Linked DNA regions of Homo sapiens: regions 2, 3 and 4 are each linked to region 1. The links are contacts of gene promoters, found by promoter capture Hi-C in blood cells and fetal thymus (Javierre and others, 2016). All regions are on one chromosome and are shown on one strand. The core of a region is centred on a gene start or on the middle of the fragment in contact, and the rest is flanking DNA. Distances in the headings are between cores, read along the strand shown. Region 1 holds the start of RAP1GAP (RAP1 GTPase activating protein). Region 2 holds the start of CDC42 (cell division cycle 42). Region 3 holds the start of ECE1-AS1 (ECE1 antisense RNA 1). Region 4 holds the start of HSPG2 (heparan sulfate proteoglycan 2).

Region 1 (3,402 bases), core at 612-3,111:
CACGGGACAACCCTCCCTCCATGGGAAGGGGTGGCAAGGCAAGCCTAGGACTCTGGACCCTCTCCTCAACCTGACCCAGCTTCCAGCCACAGGCACCCTCACCTCCTGGCAGCAAAGGGGAGCAGGTCCACATGGACCACTCCACCACGGCGTTCACCCTTCCTCCTCTCCACCGCTGTGGAGATCTTCTCCCATCAAGAGTCAGAGTACCACGATTCTAGACCTTGCTGAAGGTGACTAGGTGACCTCAGGCAGTTCATTTAGCCTCTCCGAGCCTCAGTTTCCTCACCTGTGCAATGGAGGCTTCAGCGCCTGCCCTGAAATATTGCTGTGAAGGGGGAAATTGCTCGTGCCACCTGAGGATTAATCATTACCCTGGAACCCTTCCCAAGGCCATCAAGGAACACGCACCCCTTACCAGACCTTCCAGCTGCTGGGGGCTCTCAGAGTGAGGCTGAGGTCATGGAGAAGGGAATGGGGGGCCCCCATGGCCAGCTGGACCTGATCACTGCCTCCCCACTCAGCCACAGCCCTCAGGGCCCTGTGCCAGTCCAGAAGCCCATTCAGGGACACCTTTGGCCAATGTTCTGTTTCATCTGCGAGGCAACCTTCCCCAGTGCCCCAACCATAGCGTTTTCCCCCAAACACCCTCAGGAAGGAGGGACCACTACCTGTGCAGGGGGGGCCAGGAGCCTCCTGAGAGCCTCATATGGGGAGGAAGTGGTACCATCTCACCCCCATTGCCTTTCTCTCCTACTTCCACCTGGCCAGCTTCCCTCAGTGCCCCTCCTGCCTCAGTGCCCCTTCCCTCAGTGTCCTTCCTGCCTGCCGCCCCAGGGGCCTGACCTCTGACTTGGCAGGGAGGGGAATGGAGCCCGGGGACAGAGGCCAATGAGCCCTGAGAACAGTGGATGTTCTTCCTGACCCCACCACCGGGCCTGTGCTATGACCCCAACAAGGACTCCGAGGGCATGCACAGGCTGGGGTCTGTTATGGTAGGGAGGGGGCCGCTCACCTCCGGAGACTGTGTGTGTGTGCAGGTGTGCGTACACAAGGTTTCTTCCCCAAGCCCAGGCGCCCCGCAGCTGGCACCAAACCCTGCAGGGCACGGAAACCGCCCCGTGAATTCCCACCGAGTCCTCAGATCCTGCCGAGCCAGGGGAGGCGACGAGGGGGCGCCCAACTTCGTGACGCGTGTGCCCCGCTCTGCCGCGGGGGTCAGGGACAGGGGAATGCGTCCTGTCTCTGGGGATGCAAGGACATCACCGCCCTCCCCGCTCAGGGTCCTTGATCTGAGGCCCCCACTTCCCTCCTCTGAGGACAGGAGCGCCACCCTCTGGGGGGCGCTAGGGCTTGGGCCCCTCCCCAGGGATGGAGGAAACGCGCCCACTTCCCACAGTCCCTCCTCTAAACCCCAGGCGCCCCCACCTCGAGGTGGGCGGAAAACTGGACTCCCCACCCACCCAGGGGGGTGGGACCAAAGCCCCCTGGCCGCGGCCTGGACCAAGTCCAACAGGCTGGGGGTTCAGCCGGCTCAGTCCAGGCCTCCCCCCACTTCTCCAGCTGCTGTCAAGACCGGGCTGCGCGAGCCCAGCTGCGCCCACCCCTCGCCCCTGGAGACCCGGGTCCCCCACGCGTTCGCCCCCACCCTCCGTCCCCGCCCGCCCGCGCGGGGTCTTCGCTGCGAGCCGACGGGAGTCTGGACACCTCTGTCCCCTTCCCCTTTCCAGGGCCGCAGCCCTGGCGGGGCGCACTCACCCAAGGGCCTGGGCCGGGGGCGTCCTGGGCTCGGCACTCTGGTGCCCGCGGCCGCCGCTGCAGCTCTGCTCAGATGCGGCCGGCGCTCGCCGCCGCCGCAGTTCGGGGAGGGGGACGTCACATGACCGCGGAGCGCTCCTTCCCCGGCGCCGCTCCCCACTCACTGCGGAGCCCAAGCCGCGGGCGCGGGAGCGGCGGGGAGGCCCCCGCCCTGCCGCCCCGCCCCGCCGCAGGTCCTGGAGGAGGGTTCTCGGTGCCCCCATTTTACAGGTGGGGAAACTGAGGACCAGAGAGGGGCAGGGACTGGCTCAAGGTTACACAGCTAGACAGTGGCAGAACCTGGGCGACAGCCCAGCTGTCCAGGCAACAGCTCATGCTCCAAGGGGACTGGGACAACTTCTGGATCAAGTGGAGACGTCGGGATAGGTGGGGCCCACGGCCCCCATGGGCTCCGCTTGTCTGCAGGCGCGGGAGGAAGGCGCACAGGCTTCGCTGGGCGAGAAAGCTGCTGTGCCCTGGCTGACGCCCTCCTCACCCGGGCGCTCGGCGCGCTTCCTGGCAGAGGCCACGCGGTTGACCCTCGCCAGCCCATTCGCGGCTCTTGGACTTTGTCTCTGGACTGGGCAGCTCGCCCCCGCCCCAGCCTAACCCGGGCCCAGGGCGGGTGTGGGGAGGGGAGCCACAGGCTACGGAGAAGTGGAAGGGAGGCACCCGGAAGAGAGTGGGATCAGAACAAGAGTGAAAACCCAGGCAGGGAGGGGGCGGCAGAGATCACCTCGGCCTGACTTCCAAGGCCCAGGGAGAGTTAGAGACTTGCCCAAGGTCCACAGCAAGTGAGCGGCCTGCCCACTCGAGTCCCTTCTTTGATGGTCAACAGAGCCTGAGGCTCCTGTGCCCCACTCCCCACCAAGGGGGAGCCCTCACCCACACCTCTTTCTGTTCTCCACTGAGCTCCCTCCCCGGGGAACAGCCCACATGAAGCAAAGAAACACGCAGTGGGTCGGCAAGGCCAGAACTGGGGACAACGGGTGAGGGGTATGGTTGGTGGCTCCAAGGTCATGAACTCGTCACAGAACACTCGTGTTCCAGGGGGATCTCTGAAATCTCTGGATCTCACCCCAATGTTCTAAGAACTGGGAAAACAGGCTGCAAAAGGTACAAAGACAGACCTCTTTCTCAACCATTTCGAATTGGTGGGTCAAGCCGACAGGGCCCTCCAAGGTCAACAAGTCCAATAGGCCCACTTGACAGATAATATTTAGGGAGGGGAAAGTCCAAGACATGTACTCAATATATTTCTTGAGCATCTACTGTGTGCTTAAAACCACAACTGTTACTTCCAGCTCCCACTATTTTCCCGGCCACATGGGCTGCATTTCACAAAAGGAAAGATCCGAGGTCTTCAGCAACTCTTACATCAGCCTCTGGAGGATCTGAGACATGCAAGCCTCCGGGTTTTCAGTCCCATAGGGGCTGGGGACCAGAGCCATGTTTTCCGGTCAAGACTCTAATCCCCGTGGAGAAAAGGTGAATAAGGGGGAATAGCAGGAAATGCCCCACCCTCTTCCCACGCATCCACCCACCTGTGAAAGGGCAGAGGGGAAGGTAGATCAGGCACTTGTTCTTTTCAGTCCTCCCTCCAGC
Region 2 (3,402 bases), core at 510-3,009, 380 kb after region 1:
TGACTATAAGTCAATATACTGGAATTAAGTGTCTTTGTTGGCCAAATAGCTGTGGCAGTAGACAATAAATGAGCTGTTATTAAGATAAGCAATTTTTTTTTATTTTTTTTGAGACAGAGTCTCGCTCTGTTGCCCAGGCTGGAGTGCAGTGGCGCGATCTTGGCTCACTGCAAGCTCCGCCTCCCGGGTTCACGCCATTCTCCTGCCTCAGCCTCTCGAGTAGCTATGACTACAGGAGCTCGCCACCACGCCCGGCTAATTTTTTTGTATTTTTAGTAGAGGCGGGGTTTCACCGTGTTAGCCAGGATGGTCTCGATCTCCTGACCTCGTGATCCGCCCGCCTTGGCCTCCCAAAGTGCTGCGATTACAGGCATGAGCCACCGTGCCCGGCCTAGGATAAGCAATTTAAGCGATTTTTCTCTAACATGGGGAAACATCTAAGAATAAGAGAGGGAAGTTCTCTATTTTCCTGAAGCTTTCATACTAGCAGAGAAGACAAATAATAGATACTGCGAAGATAGGATGATTGAAGAATGCAGTGATATAAATTTGGGGGAAGAGGAGGGAGGCAGAGCAAAGAAATTCAAGGCCTTGGCCAGACGTAATGTCTCACACCTTGTAATCCCAGCAGTTTGGGAGGCTGAGGCAGGCTGATAGCTTGTGTCCAGGAGTTCGAGACCAGCCTGGGCAATCCAGCAAAACCCTGTGTCTACAAAAAAATACAAAAATTAGCCAGGCATGGTGGCATGCGCCTGTGGTCCCAGCTACTTGGGAGGCTGAGGTGGGAGAATCGCCGGGACGTCGAGATTGCAGTGAGCTGAGATCGTGCCACTGCACTCCTGCCTGGGTGACAGAGCAAGAACGTCTCAAAGAAAAAACAACAACAACAACAACAACAACAACAACAAAAACACAAGGCCTGTGGTTGGGGGAAGGTTGTAACTCTAAAAAAGACCCATGTGGCTACAGCGAGGGACACTGGGTGTAGGTAGAGATAAGAAGAGTGATACTCAGTTCTCACATCACGGCGGACTGAATACAGGCCCGGGGAGTGAGAGACCATCCACCCCTGTGATCTGGGGCAAGTCACCAGCCCTTTCAGAGAAGCTTCCGTCTTCTCTGCAAAATGGGACAATACCTTGCTTCACAAGCTTGCAAGGATCAAAAGAACTGGTAGTGGGCCGGGCGCGGTGGTTCACGCCCGTAATCCCAGCACTTTGGGAGGTCGAGGCAGGTGGATCACTTACTTGAGGTCACGGGTTCGAGACCAGCCTGGGCAAAATGGTGAAACCCCGTGTCTGCTAAAAATACAAACATTAGCCTGGCGTGGTGGCAGGTGCCAGTGATCCCAGCTACTCGGGAGGCAGAGGCAGGAGGATCGCTTGAACCCAAGGGGTGGAGGTTGCAGTGAGCTGAGATCGCGCGCTGCACTCCAGTCTGGGCAACAGATCAAGACTGTCTCAGAAAAAACAAACAAAAAAGAACTGGTAGAGGAAGCGCTTTGCATACTATCGTTCACAGTATTATTACAAATACAACCATTAGGAAAACATGCAGAGCATAGCCCCGAACTCACGAGCTGCGCCGGCCCGCGCGTGCGCGACAGGCGGGCGGAGCCAGGGCAGTCCAGGCACCGCCTTGACCCGCCCCAGCCTCTTCCCCTTCCCTGTTCCTCCCACTTCCGCGGGCACCCAACTGTGCGTCTCCTGCGCGCTGACGTCAGGTGCGTGCCCCTGTCCGGCAGCCGAGGAGACCCCGCGCAGTGCTGCCAACGCCCCGGTGGAGAAGCTGAGGTGAGTGCGGGGCCCGAGGTTCCCCGCGGGAGCTGCCACCCTACCTTCCCATCCCCGCCGTCTCCGTCCTCTCCCAGTCCTCGGGGACACCCCGTCTGCGGGATCGTGGGGGGCCCGGGAGCACGGGTTGTGGGGGAGTGCCCGGCTCGCGCTGCGTCCTCCGGGCGGGCGCGGGTCCGCGTTCTGTGGGGGAGCCGGGGCGGGGGTCGCGGCCGGGGAGGCAGGGGGCGCCCGTCTGAGGAGGGGCGCGCGGCCGGGGCTCGGGGCGCGAGCGGGACCGGGCTGTCACCGGCAGCGGCGGAAGGAAGGGGGTCACACCCATCCTGGGCGCCCGGGCTCCCCTCCCCCCAGCCCGGCCCGGCGGGCTCCTAAGGGCGGCCGGGGGCCTCAGAGCGACTCGCGGGCGCTTGGGCCGGGCCGGGCGCCGGTCTTCCGTGCTGGCAGGCTGCGTTCCGTGCCCTGCGCTCCGGCCTGGACTTCCTGCTTCGCCGGGCGCCGCCGCGGACATTTTGCGGCGGGGGTGGGGGGGCGGGGGAGGGGAGTGGCGTTGCGGCCGCGGCGGGGCGGTGGCAGGAGGGCAGCTCGCTGGCTGCTCGCGGCGGTGCCTGTCCGAGCTCCCCTCCGCGCCGGCCGCGTCCTCTGGGCGGGGTGGCCCCGAGCCACGGCCTCCAGGCTGCTCTTCCTTTCGGAGGTCGAGTTCCTAGCATTTCCATCCGCTCCTCCAGCCCGCTCCCTGCCGGTTTAGCTGAAGCTTCCCTTTCGGGGAGTTACCTAACTACCTCCCGAAGCCGTCGTTCTGCTGCTTGGTTAATTCCTCTTATCGGGGGGGAATTTTCTTTGTTCGTTTGTTTTTCCTCCCCTTTAAGTCCAAGATAAATGTAGTGTGGAAGATTACGTCATCGCGGTATAAGGAGTGAGACTTAACTCCTACAAGTCAGGGACTTAAATTCAAACAGCATTTTGCAGCCTTAGTCGGTCACCCAGTGGCTTATCCTGCCTGCTTCCCAACACGTCGTATTCACAGATGATGTTTTGAAAGCTTGTTACTTGTGTTCATGACCGCCTTCAGTGCACCTAAAAGCTAGGAAGGTTTAAAATCCCAGGATTAGTTTGTGTCAGGGAATAAAGTGTAAGACAACACCGTCCACGGCCCCTTGCGTGGCATTAACTTTAAATAGAGGTCCCTTTGACTATACTAGAATGAGGTGGGTTTATTTGTGGGAACACTTTTCGGTCCAAAATGACTTTCCCAGACTGTTTATTCTCCTTTATGACTTACTGCATGCTGGGAATCTCCCTAGGTTGATTCAAGTGCACTTTTTGTGGTGAAGTTGTGTTGAAAAGAGGATCAGTTTATGCCTGATCTATGCTAGACATTTTAGTTTTGTTATTAAAAACGAGACTTCGATCTTTAAGCAAAAAACTTAATATTTTCATAATTTTGAGATCACAATTTTTATTTTTTTTGAGACAGGGTCTCAAAGACGTTACTAAATATAATGGATATTGCACTCCCAGGCTGCAGTGCAGTGGCGCGATCTTGGCCCACCGCAGCCTCCGCCTCCCGGGGTCAAGTGAGCCTCCCACCTCAGCCTCCCGAGTAGCTGGT
Region 3 (3,402 bases), core at 22-2,521, 380 kb before region 1:
GGTGGTATGCGCCTGTAGTCCCAGCTACTTGGGAGGCTTAGGTGGGAGAATCGCTTGAAGCCAGGAGGTGGCGGCTACAGTGAGCTGTGATTGCACCACTGCACTCCAGCGTGGACGACACAACAAGATCTTGTCTGAGTAAATAAATAAAATAAAAAAAAATTCTGATATTACCACTCCCTTGCTTAAAAACCCTCCACTGTCCTGGAATGAAATCCAAACCCTTCACCAGGCCCCATGGCCCCTGCCCACTCTGGGCCCTCATCTTGTGCTGCCAGCGCCCCCTCCCCCACCAACCTCCTCACACAACTCCTCAGTTTCTACAAGTTTCTTCTTCCCCCAAGACCTTTGTAGCTGCTGTTGTCTCTATCTGGAACATTTTTTCCTCCTCTCTACTCTTCCCATGGTCAGCTCCAACTTCAGATCTCAGCCTACCAGCTCCTCAAATGTCCCAGGAACCCTAAGCAGTCCCCCAAATTCTCTGTTACAGCATCCTGTTTGTTTTCCTTTACAGTACTTGTTGCAGACTGTTTTGTTTCCATGTCTTTATCATCACTGTCTCTGTCCCTCTCCAGAATCCACAGCTTTACTGGGGCTGGGACCTTGTCTGGCCTGTCCAACAGAGACTCTCCATCACCCGGCACAGAGTAGGTGCTCAACAAACGGTTGTTAAAATCAAAGGGGGGACAAGTAGAGGGGAAGTGCCTTCAAGTTCTCAAGAACTCTCCTGCATCTAACTTCATAATGCCTACAGAAACAGGGAACACATCTAAAGGTCACAGGCCCTGGGGAGGCAGGGTGCATGGGAAAGCTCTGAATTCTGGAGACTTCTGCCTCACTCCCACTGGGTGGAGGAGTTTCCATTACCCATCCCAGAGAGAGAGGGGACTCTGAGGCTGCTTCACTTACTGCTGGGTTGCAGCTGGGCTTTTTCTAGAACAGGACACTTGGTTACACTACGTTACCAGGTGTCGATTGCCAGAGGAAAAGACTTTTGAAAAAGAAGTTCAGTTCACAGAACATCTCCCCGGGGCATGTGGGTGGTGTAAGGGATTCACCCGGCTGGTGTACGGGATTTGTCAGTTCTTTTATACCATCTCTTTTAAGCTTCTCACCCTTCCCTCAGAAGCAGGTATCACTGGTTCCTTTTACAGAGAATGAAACTGAGGCTTGGGGAAGTTAACTCGCCCAGGTGTGGTTAAGCGATGGCTCCTCCTCCTTCTGTCTCATTTCAGAGATTTCCCCCTTCTGGCAAGCTCTCCTGACCACCCTCCAGGGACCCCAGACAGCATTTGGTCCCTGGCTCTGTGTCCCCACACAGCCACCCTACCCCATGCTGCCTTTTACTGAGGCACACAGCATTTTAGACAGGAGAACCCTGATGGCAGAGGCTGGGTCTCACGGGACCCTGTCTCCTTAAGGGCTTAGTCTGGGGCTGGAGCCTCTACAGATGTTTGAGCAAAGGCGGGAGGCAAGGGAGGGAGGCCGGAAGCCACCCCAGGGACTCTGATGTCCACCCTGCGGCAGCCTGTCTGTGGACAGATGATGCAGGAAGCTCACGGAACTCCCAAGCAGAAATCAGCAGAGATGGAGCCTGGTTATTTTTCAGCACACAAAAGCCGAGGGCCCCTTCCTGAGATGCCTGCCTCAGCCCGGTAGTGAAACTGAACCCACCTCAGACGGGAAAGGCTTGGCGGGCTCTGCTTGGTGGGAAGTCCACAGTGGGTGAGTGACATTTCAACAGCTGCCTGGGGCCCTTCGCCCAGGGCCTTCCATTCACTACCCCAATGGCTCCCCACACCCACCTAGAGCCTCAGCCTCACAAGTACCGCTTCCAGCTTACAGAGAGGGGGAGGGGCCTAGACAGACCAAAAACCAACCATGCCACTTGACAAATTCTCTCCTAACCCCACAGTGCCTCGTCCCTGAGATGAGAATCATCACCTCCGCTTTACAAATGAGATGACCAAGGGTCAGAGAGGAGAAAGGACCTCCCCCCAGCCCTGAGTCACCTGCCTGGAGACTGAGGGAGCCATAATGCGAATCTTCCCCTTGCCAAACCCACTGACTCCATTACGCTGCCTCCAGAGAACCCGAGCCCCGCGGCGAGAAAGTGGTAGAGCTGGGCCTCGAACCTGGGTCCTGGACTCTTGGTCCTGTGCTCCTTGTGGAAGATGGAACTGCTTCTTCAGGTGGGAACCTCACAGAGTCTGGGTGCCCTGGGCAGACTGAGGCTCTGGGCTGACAGGGCAGCCAGCACTTATTCTCCCTAATTGTCTCATTTGCAGTTGTGGGTGCCACGCCTGGCCCCGAGTGTGTTGGGGAAGGTAAAGAACCTCCACTTTGGTCTTCTCAGTTCCCTTCCTGGCACTGTGCAGCCGTGGAGGAGAAATCTGGGTTGAATCTGGGTCTAGTGTTCAAGAGGAGGGCCTGGCAGAAACCAAGAGTGAAGGGGTGGAACCACAGCTCCCTGTGGACTGCCCCGTCCTCAGTCCCCGGTGCCCCAGCTGCACAGAGGAAGTGATGACAGCCAGATGAAGGTGCAACAGTGCCCAGCTCTGGAAACTCCACCCTTGTAAATCAAAGGCCTGTGGTGAGCAGAAACGAGAAATATAAACACGCACAGGTTTCTGGCGACAAAAGCCTCCTGGCCTGGTAGCACCTGGGCATGACCCCCTTTGCCCAGACGACATTAGTCACTCATATGGCTCTTGCGTTTGGTTGGCCAAAGGCGGGGGATTGTTAAGTCATCTTGGGGTGATGAGGTGGAAAAGGGAAGCCCCACATGTGAAATTCTGAGGCCTGGGACTGAGCCACACCCTCCACAGCTACTTTCACATTGTCTCTAAGCCTCAGCTCCTTAGAGACGCTGCCCTTTGTGGCCGAAGTCCCCATCAGTTACTACTTTTGGTGCTGGTAATTGGCTGGGATCTGTTCAATCTTTACATGTCATCTAAAACACACTCATATTATCTGGTAGCTAAACACTTATATTTCACAGATGCTATAATGTAGTGGGTAAAATCTCTGGATCTAAACCTCATTTCAGATCCCCAGTCTGAACTTCCCAACTCTGTGACCCTGAGCAAGTGACTCAGCCTCTCTGTGCCTCAGTACTCATCTGTCAAATGAGGAGGATGATGATAACAATAGTACCTCCCTCATAGGACTGTGGTGACACTTAAATGAGTTAATATAGATAAAGTGCTTGGCTGGGCATGGTGACTCATGCCTGCAATCCCAGCACCTGGGGAGACCCAGGCCGGAGGATTGTTTGAGGCCAGGAGTTCAAGACCAGCCTGGGAAACACAGCAAAACCCTGTCTCAAAAAAACAAAAACAAAAACAAACCCAAGTAACACAACTTTGGGCAAGGGATAAGATATAAAAATATGGCTATCAT
Region 4 (3,402 bases), core at 459-2,958, 270 kb after region 1:
AATGTCTGTGGAAATTCCTCATGCACACAGCAAACAACTCCACCCACCGCCATCCTACCGCACCCGGGCATGGAGGAGCCCCTCATCGGGGGCAGAGCTGGGGGAAGGTCAGGAAAGACTGTTGGGCCTCGGAAAACATCCCACGTGCTAGGTTGGTGCGTTGGGAAAAGTAAAAGTCAGTGCCAGGAGTGCAAGTTCAGGTCAAGACTAGGGAGCTACTGGATGGCCCTGCTGAATATTTTGGGGTGAGAGGCTGAAACAGGAGGACGACAGAGGAGGCTGCCCAGAGTGGGGATGGGGGAGGAGAAGTGCTGGGTGGGTGGGGCAAGAGCAGTGAGGAGCCAGGTCTGGGTGGGGGCTTGACGAGTGACTCAGGAGGGTAGAGGTGCGATGAAGCCAGGAAGGTGAGGCCAGGCAGGCAGTTCCTGGGTAAACACCAGCCTGGTTAGAAAAGTCCCTCTCTTGGCTCAGAGAACAGGGAGGCAGGTATGGGGACTGCCTAGGAGCACCTCGGAGAGAGTGGGGGTGGCTCTGTGGCTCCCCACGGTAGGCTCGGCTCCCCAGATGTGCCCCCACCCACATCTGCCACTAGCTCCCTGCCCACCGACCCCACCCAGTCCTCCTCAAGTTCACTCAGGTCCTCAGGGCCTCTGCTGGCCAAGTGCCTTCTAAGCCTCGGGATTCCTGACCGTAGAATTCCCTTTTCCTCCACCTAAGCTCAGAGTAGGGGACTAGACTGCAAGGGCAGGCCTCTCCCTGCCTCTTGGAGACCTGGGAAGAGGAAAGCTGGGGAACTCGGGTCCCCCAAGGGTGCACTGCATCCCCGCACCACGCACTTTGCAGCTCATTCCACGCAGTCCAGCAACGCCCTGCAGCTATGCATTTTGAGGCCGTGCATTTTGAGTTCCCTTGACCCACGTGGGGCTGGCCTCAGAGAGGTTAACTAGCGTGCCCCAGGTCACACAGTTACTCAGTGAAAGGCAGGGATTGATTCAACTCTTCGGCTGTATGACTCCAAGGCCCGTGGGTGTTCCACACAAGCTTCAGTTCTGTCCCAAAAGTTTTGCTTGTGCCTACCTGGGTCCAAGCTCCCCAAGGTGATAGACGGTGTGGTAAAGTTTCAGCGAGACTCATAGGGTCCCCATCACCACTGAGTGGCCGTTCTGCCAAGCTGGCGCAGAAGGGTTCCCTCGTCCTGCCAAGTTCCCACCCTGCTCAAAGTTTCCCCTCCTGGTCCCCAGGAATGGTAGGCCGGACCATGCCCAGCGAGACTCCAGCACTCGGCAACGTGGCCGAGAGACCCACGGGCTCCCACACGGGCCAGCCCCGCCCCCAGCCCCACGAAGGGTCCTGACTGGTGGCCCCCCTGGATTAGCCCCATGCCGCAGGGTGGCGCCGGCCCGGGGTCCCCGGCGGGCGCCGCCGTCCCGGGCCAGAGTCCCCGCCGCGCAGCCTTGGGCGCCCCAGCCAAGTTGGCGGGAGGCGGCGAGCGGGACCGGGGCGCCCCTAGCCCCTCCGCCCCCGCCCCCCGCCCCTCTGCCCCGCACACTCACCGCCAGCAGCCGCCCGTGCAGCAGCAGCGCCAGCAGCAGCGCGCCCGCCGCCCGCCACCCCATGGCCCGGCCCGCGCCGCTCTCTCGCTCGCTCGCTCCGCGCCGCCCGCTCCGCGCCGCCCGCAGCCGCCCGCTCGCCGGCCAGCTCGGGACAGCGCGGCCCTCTCCCCACCGCCCCCTTTCCTCCCCGCCCGCCCCGCCCCCGCAGCGCCGGCCCCGCCCCCGAACCGCCCCTCCCCGGAGCGCCAGGCCCCGCCCACGGACCGCCCCCGGGCCGCGGGCTCTGCTCGCCCCAGCCGGCCGCGCAGCCTACTAGGCCTTTGTCTGGGCCCCCAGCCCCCTCCGCGCGGGCCGCGGCCCGGCCCGGCTCCCCGCCAAACCCGGCCTGGAGTATGGGATGGGACGGGGCGGGGGACCGGGGGCCCGGGCCCGGGCATGGGATGGGGCCGCCGGGCCAGGCGCTCTCGCCTCCCCGATCCCCGGCTCCCCCGCTTCCCCGCGCGCGCCGCCGACTTCCACGCCCCTGCACGCCCCGCACGGCCGACTCCACTCGCGCAGCTTTTGAAGATCCCGGGATCTCCTTCCCACGCTCACACGCACGCAGCTGCCGCTCCGCGCCACACGTGCACGCCAACTTCCACACCCAAGAACACCTTCACACCATAACTTTACTGCACGAACACACTTGTGCGCTACCCGGGAACACTTTCACACTCTGGACCCAACTCTGAAGTACCAACAATCCTCACCGGCTCACATGCACACTTAACTCGCTTCCAAACTCTCACCTCCACCAGGGACACAGGAGACAGCCCTCACACCACACTCAGCCCCTCACTCACGCATACATCCCAACAAGTCACGGAGCGGGAGGACGCCTTTTCACATAGATTCCTCGCAGGCACGCACATTTCACACACAGGCCCACATCATTGCCTACATGCTTACCAGCTTGTTTTTTTTTTTTTTTTTTTTTTTGAGAAGGAGTCTCGCTCTGTCCCCAGGCTGGAGTGCGGTGGTGGGATCTTGGCTCACTGCAACCTCCGCCTCCGGGTTCAAGCAATTCTCCGGCCTCAGCCTCCTGAATAGCTGGGATTACAGGCGTGCCACCACGCCTGGCTAATTTTTGTATTTTTAATAGAGATGGGGTTTTTACCATGTTGGCCAGGCTGGTCTCGAACTCCTGACCTTGTGATCTGCCCGCCTTGCCCTCCCAAAGTGATGGGATTACAGGCATTGAGCCACCGCACCCAGCCTCAGCCTGTATCTTTTACCTGTTCTCACCCACTAATCACAGTGCCTCATAGTGGGCACTGGGTACTGAACTGAGCTGCCCACCCCACCTGCACCATTTTCCATGTAAATCACTCACACACCAACTTTGAGTCACATAAATCACAGCCCCAGAGCCAGAACCACACCAACTCACACACTCAGGCCCAGACAGACAGACCCTGCCAAAGCCCCATCACAGATGCTCGGGTGGGTGGTAAAATCACAGCCCCATGATCTGTCTCTGACCCAACCGCAGGCAGCAAACAGCACCAAGCCCCCAGACCTATTCACTGCCTACTCTTCAGCTCCCCTCTTCTGCCTGAAATTTCCAGGGCAGCCCGAGGCTGATGGGTGGAGAGGAAAACTATGTGTGTGTAGCTTTGAGGAAAACCTTTTGAGTAATGATAGAGGAGGAGAATAAAACTGAAGTTTCCATTGTTTCCTGTGAGAGTTGCTAGGTTCCAGAAACTCATGGCTGGGTTTGCAGCCAGGAGTGAGGTGAGCTGTGGACAGAAGGAAATGCCCAGCTCACTGGGCGGCACCAGGCCTGGCTCCGGAAGCTATGTTCCCTGTG

Evidence for each region. The method cuts DNA at HindIII sites, captures the fragments that hold promoters and counts their contacts. A CHiCAGO score of 5 or more calls a contact.
Region 2: a contact is called between the fragment with the promoter of CDC42 here and the fragment with the promoter of RAP1GAP in region 1, in 4 of 17 cell types (megakaryocytes, M0 macrophages, non-activated CD4 T cells and 1 more). The highest score is 8.2, in megakaryocytes.
Region 3: the fragment with the promoter of ECE1-AS1 here is called in contact with the fragment with the promoter of RAP1GAP in region 1 in 3 of 17 cell types (M0 macrophages, fetal thymus and M1 macrophages); the score reaches 6.5 in M0 macrophages.
Region 4: the fragment with the promoter of HSPG2 here is called in contact with the fragment with the promoter of RAP1GAP in region 1 in 1 of 17 cell types (megakaryocytes); the score reaches 5.0 in megakaryocytes.

What each region holds. Positions count from the first base shown.
Region 1 is chr1:21,667,496-21,670,897 of GRCh38, forward strand. RAP1GAP (RAP1 GTPase activating protein) reads right to left here and starts at 1,862. Exons shown (of 25, transcript NM_002885.4): 1 at 1,759-1,862. RefSeq lists a silencer at 1,784-1,933 and an enhancer at 2,582-3,402. The HindIII fragment of the contact is 8,301 bases long and covers 1-3,402 here.
Region 2 is chr1:22,050,950-22,054,351 of GRCh38, forward strand. CDC42 (cell division cycle 42) reads left to right here and starts at 1,760. Exons shown (of 6, transcript NM_001791.4): 1 at 1,760-1,793. RefSeq lists silencers at 1,849-1,998, 2,059-2,278, 2,289-2,468 and enhancers at 2,181-2,748, 2,749-3,317. The HindIII fragment of the contact is 1,393 bases long and covers 1,150-2,542 here.
Region 3 is chr1:21,292,019-21,295,420 of GRCh38, forward strand. It overlaps ECE1-AS1 (ECE1 antisense RNA 1), which reads left to right and starts at 1,272. Exons shown (of 3, transcript NR_038404.1): 1 at 1,272-1,725; 2 at 1,916-2,192. It also overlaps a transcript of ECE1 not described here. RefSeq lists enhancers at 1,219-1,308, 2,150-3,349, 2,689-2,848. The HindIII fragment of the contact is 8,029 bases long and covers 1,106-3,402 here.
Region 4 is chr1:21,935,602-21,939,003 of GRCh38, forward strand. It overlaps HSPG2 (heparan sulfate proteoglycan 2), which reads right to left and starts at 1,709. Exons shown (of 97, transcript NM_005529.7): 1 at 1,554-1,709. The coding sequence starts at 1,616. RefSeq lists an enhancer at 159-1,000 and a silencer at 1,748-2,097. The HindIII fragment of the contact is 13,080 bases long and covers 1,040-3,402 here.